Regions from separate parts of the Homo sapiens genome. Here region 1 is linked to region 2. The links are contacts of gene promoters, found by promoter capture Hi-C in human tissues and cell types (Jung and others, 2019). All regions are on one chromosome and are shown on one strand. Each heading gives the region's core, a stretch centred on a gene start or on the middle of the fragment in contact. The rest is flanking DNA. Distances are from core to core; before and after follow the strand shown.

Region 1 (4,362 bases), core at 1,466-3,965, 160 kb before region 2:
CCCCTCGGCCACACCCTGGGAGGTCTGGGTGACAGCGAGGAGCACCGGAGACTATTGGCTTCTCCCTGGACGCCCAGGAAGAAGCTTGAGGCCAGGGTGTGCTCAGTCTTGACCGGGCGGTTTCTTAACCTCTCTGTGCCTTCTCGTCATCTGTAGGATGGTGACACAGCCACGCTCTGCCTCACTTGCAGGGGTCTGTGAGGCCTCGTGAGTTCAGACGTGCGGAGCTTTTGGGATGGGCCCCACATCCAGTTAGCGCGAATGTGGATTCTGTGGTCCGAGCCCCTCCCTGGCACAGGGTGGTCTCAACAGAACTCTACTTCCTCCCGCAAGCTGGGAGGGCGCCAGCCTCCCTTGTGGTGGAAGAGGCGCCAGCCTAGGCGAGCCATGCGGTGTTCCCAGGATGGGGGGAAGGGACTTAAAGGGGAAGGTGGCATCTTCCATGGCTTGGATCCTGGGGCTGTGATCTTTGCAGCCCCCTCACTGGGAAGAAGCTGCTTCTCCAGCCTGGTGGTCCGTGTGGGCCGAAGGGGAGGCCCTGGCTCCTGCCTGCTGGGCCTGGGCTGCCTGTGGCTCCTGCCCAGGTTCCTACTCCTGTGTGGCTGACCCTCCTGGCCCAGGCTGCCGGCCAGAGTTCCCAGGCCAGACTGTCCCTAATCATTGTAGGCGGGTGGGCTTCCTCTGCCACCACAGGATGCCTTGGGGACAGCCAGGACCTCACCTGGCCTCACTGCCCCACTTCCCTCCATGTGTCCTACCAAGAGTAGGCAGGCCCCCCGCAGGGGCCAGACCAGGCCTTCCCAACCCCGGAGTCTCTGGGGTTCTGGCTGTTGTTCTTGCGAGAGCGTTTGACCCCACCCCTGGGCTGGGAGCTCTGGACAGGTGTGTACACGGCCCTGGGCTCTGTGGGCTGGGGTCCTGTAGCAGACAGGAAGGGAAGGAGCGGCCTTGTGGGCTGAGGCCCAGGCCCCATCTGAGGCACAGGCCCTCCCTGTTGGGGGCCTGTGGCCTCAGCTACTGAGGTGGGAGCAGGCCGGGCTGAGCGGGCAGGAGGCCAGGGCAGGGATGAAAAGGCCCTTCATGGCCCACACAAAGGCTGTCTGTGAGCAGAGGCGCCTGGCCTCAGGGCCCTGTGGTCAGAACACACTTATTTACCAAAAGGCAGGGCGGCTGGGGCCAGTGGGGCTGGGAGAGAGCCCGTGGTGCCCAGGCTTGTGGCAGTGCCACCAGCCCCTGCTTCCCTGGGTCAGAGCGCGTAGCCACACCACATGGCTAATTCTGGTCAGTGGAGTCTGGGCCTCATTACCGCCATGGAACTTTCTTGGGGTCCTCCGTGCCCCCACCTCTTTGCCAACCTCACTTTCTGTCACCCTGGCCTATTCACTGTCCGCCTGGCACGCCGTGAGTTCCGTCCTCCACACCTTCGCTCCTGCCCCATCTCCCCCCTCCCCAGACAGGACTCCTGCTGGGAAACTGCTCTGCTCCCAGCTTCCCAGAAGGATGGATTTGGGGGAAGATGGGAATTGCCTCTCAGCTTTGCTTTCCCTTCTTACTGGAGTAAATTCTAGAAACATAGATGAGGATAAGAAGTGCCTCGGCCCCTCCCTGGCAGCGGCACCCCTTTTCCTGGTGGATCGGTGGCTGAGTGCAGGCTGTCATTCCGAGCCTATGTGTCTGCCACTTGGGCACCAGCCTAGGTTGGCAGGGAGCTGGTGGCTCCTGGGGCCCTGGCCGCTTGGGTGCAGATGGGTACTGGGCCAGCCTGTGAGGGATTCCTGTGGCAGCCAGCGGCTGCAGACCCATAGCAACTGGGCTTGTGTCCAAAGGCGCACCCCAGGCCAGACGCAGCAGCTGAAGATGCTGGTGTTCACACAGTTACCTCCTTGTGCAAGATGCTTGACAGCATAGTCTGAACCCCCGTCTTACAGGTCAGGAAGGTGGATTGGGGCATGGAGCAAGGATAGGCCCCAGCCCTCCTGATTAGAAAGCTTCATGGCCTGGCTGGACAGGAGGGGGCTGTGTACAGTGGGAGGAGGCCAGGGCAGGTATGTCTGGTGGTGGGCGCAGCAGAGACAGGCTGGGTCACGGGGGACAGATGGGGACAGGGCCTGAGTGGGGCTCCCCACTGCCCTGCTCAGAGGGTACCGTCAAGGGTGGCAGCTCACCCCTGCTGGGCTGGCCTGGGTACTGAGCCCTGCCTTCTCAGGGGCTGGAGGCCTGCCACTCCTCGGCTGATTCCCGCAGATGCCACCCGGCTCAGCTGGGCCTGGTACCCAGAAGCCCTGCCGCGGCCTCCAGATGCAGGGAGGTGCCTACCTGCCAGTCTGTCTTGGGTGTGTCATTTGTCCATTTCTTTGGACATGTTCAGGCAGTCAGTGAGCCTAGACCCTGGTGCCTGCCAGGCGGTGGGCGCACTCAGGCCTTTTACCTGCCCAGCCCCCAGAAGCCTGAGGCAGCACGCCAGGGGCCTGGGGCCTTCCATGGGGACTGCAAGGCTGCAGACCCCTGCCTTTCTGGCTGCGACATGGGAGGCCTGGCTGGGTCACTTCCCCTCCTCTCAGGGTGGTCTTCAAGGTTTGCGGGAGGCTAGAGAGACATCAGTGCTACAGTGCAGCCTTGGGCCCCTCGGGAGGGAAGCCTCCCCCAGTTGGGGGCCAATGGGCCTTCCACCCATGGGGCCTCCTGCCAGAGGTCTTTTCTGGAAAGGGGTTCTGCCTTGGGCCAGCCCTGGGGAATGTGGCAGGTCAGGTGAAAGGTCAGCAAGCTGTCTCAGAGCTGAGCCTTGCAACTGACCTCTCCAGGCTTGAGAGAGGCCCAGAAGCCAGGGACCTGCTAACATTTTATTGTGGAAAGATGTGAAGTTTACAGAAAAGTTGCACAAATACTCCAATGAACTCCAGGAGTCCATCCACCTAGTCTTGCCAACTGCCAACATTTTGCTACATTGCTGAATCCTCTATCTGAATGCTGAAATCATTTGAGAGTAAGTTGCAGAAGTCATGTTCCTTTGCCCCTAAATTCTTCCTAAGAACAAGGACATTCTCTTAACACACCAGAGTCAGCTATCAAAACCAGGAAGTGAGCACTGAGGCAGTCCTAAGCCACACCCTGTTCAAACTTCACCAACGGACCTGAGTCTCCGATCACAGGCCTGTCCCTCCCCGTCCAGGAACATTGAGCTGTCTCCTTAGTCTCTGATCTGGAACCTTTCGGCCTTTCTTTGTTTTTCCTAACTTTGACATTTGGGAAGGCCCATTTACTTTAAGACTGACCCTGAGTCTGGGTTGGCTGATGTTTCTGCGTGGTTTGCCCTAGATGGACACAACTGGCCAGAAAACCCTGGAAGGACCTCTGTGTCTTCTCGAGCATCCGCCTCTCTGGGTGCTGGTGAACCTATGAGGAGGGCAAGTGTCTGGCTTGACTCTTGCCCCAGCGCTCAGGGATGGAACCCGCAGGGACAAAAGGTGCCCTAGGGTCGCCGGCTGGCCGGCAGGGTCTGTTCACAGAACGGCAGCCTCCCTGCACTGTTTCTGGGCAGCACAACCGCTCCTGCAACTGTCCAAGGCCTTCAGCCCACCTGTGCTCACCACCACGGCACCTTATCCCCAAGCCTTGGCTTTCTTGTCTCTGAAATGGGGATAAAAGCAGTTCCCACACCACAGAGTAGCTGGAGTCAAAGAGATGAGGTGTTGGGACATCCCCAAGCTCATCCAGGGAACCGGCTTGAGGGTCGAGTGTCCCTGGATCACAGTCTCTATCCCAGTTGAGATTAGAGCATGGGGCCGGCCGCAGTGGCTCACACCTGTAATCGCAGCACTTTGGGAGGCCGACACGGGTGTATCACCTGAGGTCAGGAGTTCAAAATCAGCCTGGCCAACATGGCAAACCCCGTCTCAACTAAAAATACAAAAATTAGCTGGGTGTAGTGGCAGGTGCCTGTAGTCCCAGCTACTCCGCAGGCTGAGGCAGGAGAATCGCTTGCTTGAACCCGGGAGGCGGAGGCTGCAGTGAGCCGAGATTGTACCACTTCACTCCAGCCTGGGCACAGAGCAAGACTCTGTTTCAAAAAGAGAGAGAGAGAGATTAGGACATGGGCAGGCCTGCCCTGCTAACACTGTGATGTCAGATGGTCTGGCTGGGCTGGAGAGGCCAAGAGCCGACCTACCATCCCCATGTTGAGCTTTCCAGCGTTTCTGGGGCATCCTGTCTGGTTGCCGGGGATGGATGGCCCAGGGTTGGAGTGGTGGTCAGGGGAGGACAACTGGGGTGGGCTGGCTGGTGAGGATACAGGGCGGGGGTTATCATGCAGGCGTCTCAGCCTGTGCTTTCTGTGGGACTGAGAATGTCTCCTTTCTGCTCTCT
Region 2 (4,136 bases), core at 3-2,502:
GTTGAATGAAAGACTGATAGATTACATTTATTTCTCAAAGAAGCTAAGTTTTAAATAGATAACGCATGCATGTGGTAGAAAAATGAGAGCAGTACAAAAGGGTGCACAAAGGCAAACCTTGCCCCTCTTGCTGGCCTCTTGCCCACTTGCCCTCTGCAAAGGCTGTGTCTCAGACGGGGTGCCCAGGACGCCGGCTCTGACACGGAGACCCACGGCAGGCAAGAGCCTCTGGGGGAAAGGGAGGAGCAGCAGAGAAAGAGGCGGCTGTAATGCAGTCTCAGGGAAGGCCCAGCCGCCCGGAGGGAGCTCCGGAGCCGCACTGTTCCTGGTCAGGAGTTCAGGAAGAGGGTCTTCAGGCTCTGAGTGGACCAATCATCAAGCAGCCCTTCTTGGGTATGACCTGGGGCAGATTCTTCATCTGGGAACAACTGGCCCATCCTCCCCAGGCCAGGGCCCTGCAGCCAACACTCCCCAGAGCTGCGGGATGCATCCTCCTAAAGGGACCTAGGCAGCTTAGCCCGAAAATCACTGTCACCCACTGTCCCCAAGTTACCTCTGTCCCCTCCCTACCCTTTTTAGCTGAAGACTTATTTTTAATTGTTATTTTCTTAGACCTCTGGAGCACCCCACGCCCCCAGCCTGGGTTAGCTGTCAGGAGCCCCTGTCTCTTCCTTTCCCACTGCAGCGCCGCCCCCTCGCTGCCTCAGGGGGAGCCCACGCAGCAGCGGGGGCAGACGGGCCTCAGCCTCAGGCAGCCTGGGGAGCAGAGCCTTAGAAGCCATGCTTTTTCTTTTTCCTTTTCTTTGAAACAACTTTCTAGGGCTCTGGAGTTATAAAAAGCTCCCATGTGTCACTTTCTGGCATTTGGGCAGCTGCCGAATGCCACCCGGCCTGCACTGCTGTCCTCCCGAGGTTTGCCCCTGGATTGATGGGCTGGGTTTGGCAAAAGCAGCTGGAGGTTATCGAAAATCTGTTGTAAGGAGCATTGTTAACTTAGAATAAAAATCGAATCCAAAACACGCTTTTGCAATACCCCCTCCCGATATCCACCGAGGCAAAGGCAGAATTAAGAAGCAGGGTCTTGAGATGTAGGAAAGGAGAATGAACCCCACGCGGGAAGAGGACAGGCCGCCCTGACTTTGGTCCACTCAGCCAGGGGGTGAGCACCACCTGTCTTGGTGAATGACTCTGAGCCCATCTCAGGTGTGGCTGCAGGTGACACATCTTCTCTTCCTGTCCACCCCCCAGCCCCATGGCGTCCCTTCCTGTCCTGCAGAAGGAGAGCGTGTTCCAGTCGGGAGCCCATGCCTACAGAATCCCTGCCCTGCTCTACCTGCCTGGGCAGCAGTCCCTGCTGGCCTTCGCGGAACAGCGGGCAAGCAAGAAGGATGAGCACGCAGAGCTGATTGTCCTGCGCAGAGGAGACTACGACGCACCCACCCACCAGGTTCAGGTGAGGCAGGAGGTGTCTGCACTGGCTCCCCAGGGCTCTGCCACACCCTTTGCTGCTGTGATCAGGGGCCAGTCCTGGATCTCAAGAAATACAGGGACAACTTTATCCCTCAATGGCTGTACTCCGGAGGAGAGATAGAGCAGAGAAAGTGCCCCTAATGGTTCCCTGGACCTCTGGGTTCACTGTGAATTAGTCCAGCTGGCCTCCATCTGTTTTCATGAAAGATTGAATGAGTTGCCCAGCATCCGTGATGACCTCACGGAGGAATAGTTCAGTGTTGCATAATGGAGGGTTGTGTCCTTTGAGTAAAATTAACTTGGGGACTTGGGGTGGGGTGATGGCTTGTGTCCTAAAGTCCCATTTTATAGATTAAATAATTAATCCTGATGACAGCACCCAAGGCTGGCTGATCATATTTGAAGAGTTTAATATTATTATCATTCCTTTGTGGTCATTACTACACAGCTGTTCAAAGCATGGGATTTGAAGCAGATGGACCTGGGTTCAAGTCCTGGTTCCGCCACTGACCACAGATGTGGCCTAGGCAACTCCTCCTCCCTGTCGCGGTCTCTTGCTCACTGTAATAATGGAGCTACTAACACCTGTTCCCTGGGGATTGAGGCATTAGATGAGACCATGGATGTTAGACTTTTGGTGCTGTGTCTGTGCTTAGAATTGCCCAATGGGGGTAGCTGTTAATAAATGGGGACAGACAGCACATGTGACATAGACTTGGGGATTCTGGAAGCTCAATGTGACTCCTCCTTGGCTACATGAGTAGGATATGGAGTGTAGAAGGTGAGAGGTGACCGTCACATTCTGTCTTGTACTGGTCAGGTTATTGCACCTTCCGCCAGGGCTTTGCTATTCAAGGATGGTGAGCTGGACTGGGGTGGGAAGTGGAGGAACCAGGATGAAGTTGGGAATGGCTCATGCACGAGTCATCTTCATATCTTGTGGTCTGGCAGGTGGGTGTTCTGTAAATGCATATTGATGGCAATGGAAGGAACAGAATCACTCAGCCGAGTGTGGCTGCCTTGGAGGGGTGAGGTGGCACCCTGGGCCCCGCAGCTCTGGGGAAACGTTGCAAGGAGGATATGAGTGTTGGGTGAAGAGTTCTTCTCGATGACTTTTGACTCTAACCCGGGAGACACACCCGTGCCCACCCCTCCCACTCATGCAGCTCCTGGCACCATCCCCAGCTGTTTCAAGGCTGCCTTCTTCTTTCTCTCTCCCTACTCAGTGGCAAGCTCAGGAGGTGGTGGCCCAGGCCCGGCTGGATGGCCACCGGTCCATGAACCCATGCCCCTTGTATGACGCGCAGACGGGGACCCTCTTCCTCTTCTTCATTGCCATCCCTGGGCAAGTCACGGAGCAACAGCAGCTGCAGACCAGGGCCAATGTGACGCGGCTGTGCCAAGTCACCAGCACTGACCACGGGAGGACCTGGAGCTCCCCCAGAGACCTCACTGATGCGGCCATCGGCCCAGCCTACCGGGAGTGGTCCACCTTTGCAGTGGGCCCGGGGCATTGTTTGCAGCTTCACGACAGGGCCCGGAGCCTGGTGGTGCCCGCCTACGCCTACCGGAAACTTCACCCCATCCAAAGGCCGATCCCCTCTGCCTTCTGCTTCCTCAGCCATGACCATGGGCGCACGTGGGCGCGAGGGCACTTTGTGGCCCAGGACACCCTGGAGTGCCAGGTGGCCGAAGTCGAGACTGGGGAGCAGAGGGTGGTGACCCTCAACGCGAGAAGCCACCTCCGAGCCAGGGTCCAGGCCCAGAGCACCAATGACGGGCTTGATTTCCAGGAGTCTCAGCTGGTGAAGAAGCTGGTGGAGCCGCCGCCCCAGGGCTGCCAGGGGAGCGTCATCAGCTTCCCCAGCCCCCGCTCGGGGCCTGGCTCCCCAGCCCAGTGGCTGCTCTACACTCACCCCACACACTCCTGGCAGAGGGCCGACCTGGGTGCCTACCTCAACCCGCGACCTCCAGCCCCTGAGGCCTGGTCAGAGCCGGTACTGCTGGCCAAGGGCAGCTGTGCCTACTCAGACCTCCAGAGCATGGGCACCGGCCCTGATGGGTCCCCCTTGTTTGGGTGTCTGTACGAAGCCAATGATTACGAGGAGATTGTCTTTCTCATGTTCACCCTGAAGCAAGCCTTCCCAGCTGAGTACCTGCCTCAGTGAGCCTGTGGTGCCCACCTCAAGGGCCTGCCTTTCACCTGCACACCCAGCTCGGAGGCTCTGCGGCTGCCTCTCCTTCCCGTGGCCCCTGGACGTGGGGGCCACTCTGGGCTCCCTTCGGCGCCCGTGTGTGGAGAGAGGTGCACCTCTTGCTCTTTTCCTCCTGCGTGGTTCCAGTCTTCCCAAAAGGTTCTATTTTCAGCCCAGAAACCAAAAGTGTCTGGCTTCCCATAGCCCCTCCATAGGGAAGGCGTGGAGGGTCCTGCAGCGCAGCTGTCACCTTGTCTGCCTGTCCCCTACCCCCAGCTTTGTGTAGGTCTTGACAAATTTCTAGTTCAACTCCTTCCTTCTTGGGAACCATTCCTTATGTTCCTGGGGAAGAACTGAGATGGAAGACCATGGTGTAAATTAGCAGAGATGTGTGTGTATCTGTGTGTGTCTGCATGTGCACGTGTGTTCGTGTGTGTCTATATGTGTCTCTGTGTGCATGTGTGTTCGTGT

The links. The method cuts DNA at HindIII sites, captures the fragments that hold promoters and counts their contacts. A contact is called where the count stands out against the background at its distance.
Region 1: a contact is called between a fragment that was not itself captured here and the fragment with the promoter of NEU2 in region 2, in 1 of the 25 tissues and cell types used here (spleen).

Annotation. Positions count from the first base shown.
Region 1 is chr2:232,871,278-232,875,639 of GRCh38, forward strand. All of the region lies in intron 1 of SNORC (secondary ossification center associated regulator of chondrocyte maturation), which reads left to right. Among named protein-coding and RNA genes, the nearest start is that of SNORC, 3.2 kb to the left of the region's middle. RefSeq lists an enhancer at 917-1,682. The HindIII fragment of the contact is 7,170 bases long and covers 1-4,362 here.
Region 2 is chr2:233,031,420-233,035,555 of GRCh38, forward strand. It overlaps NEU2 (neuraminidase 2), which reads left to right and starts at 1,253. Exons shown (of 2, transcript NM_005383.2): 1 at 1,253-1,453; 2 at 2,697-3,638. The coding sequence starts at 1,253. The coding sequence ends at 3,638. The HindIII fragment of the contact is 19,695 bases long and covers 1-4,136 here.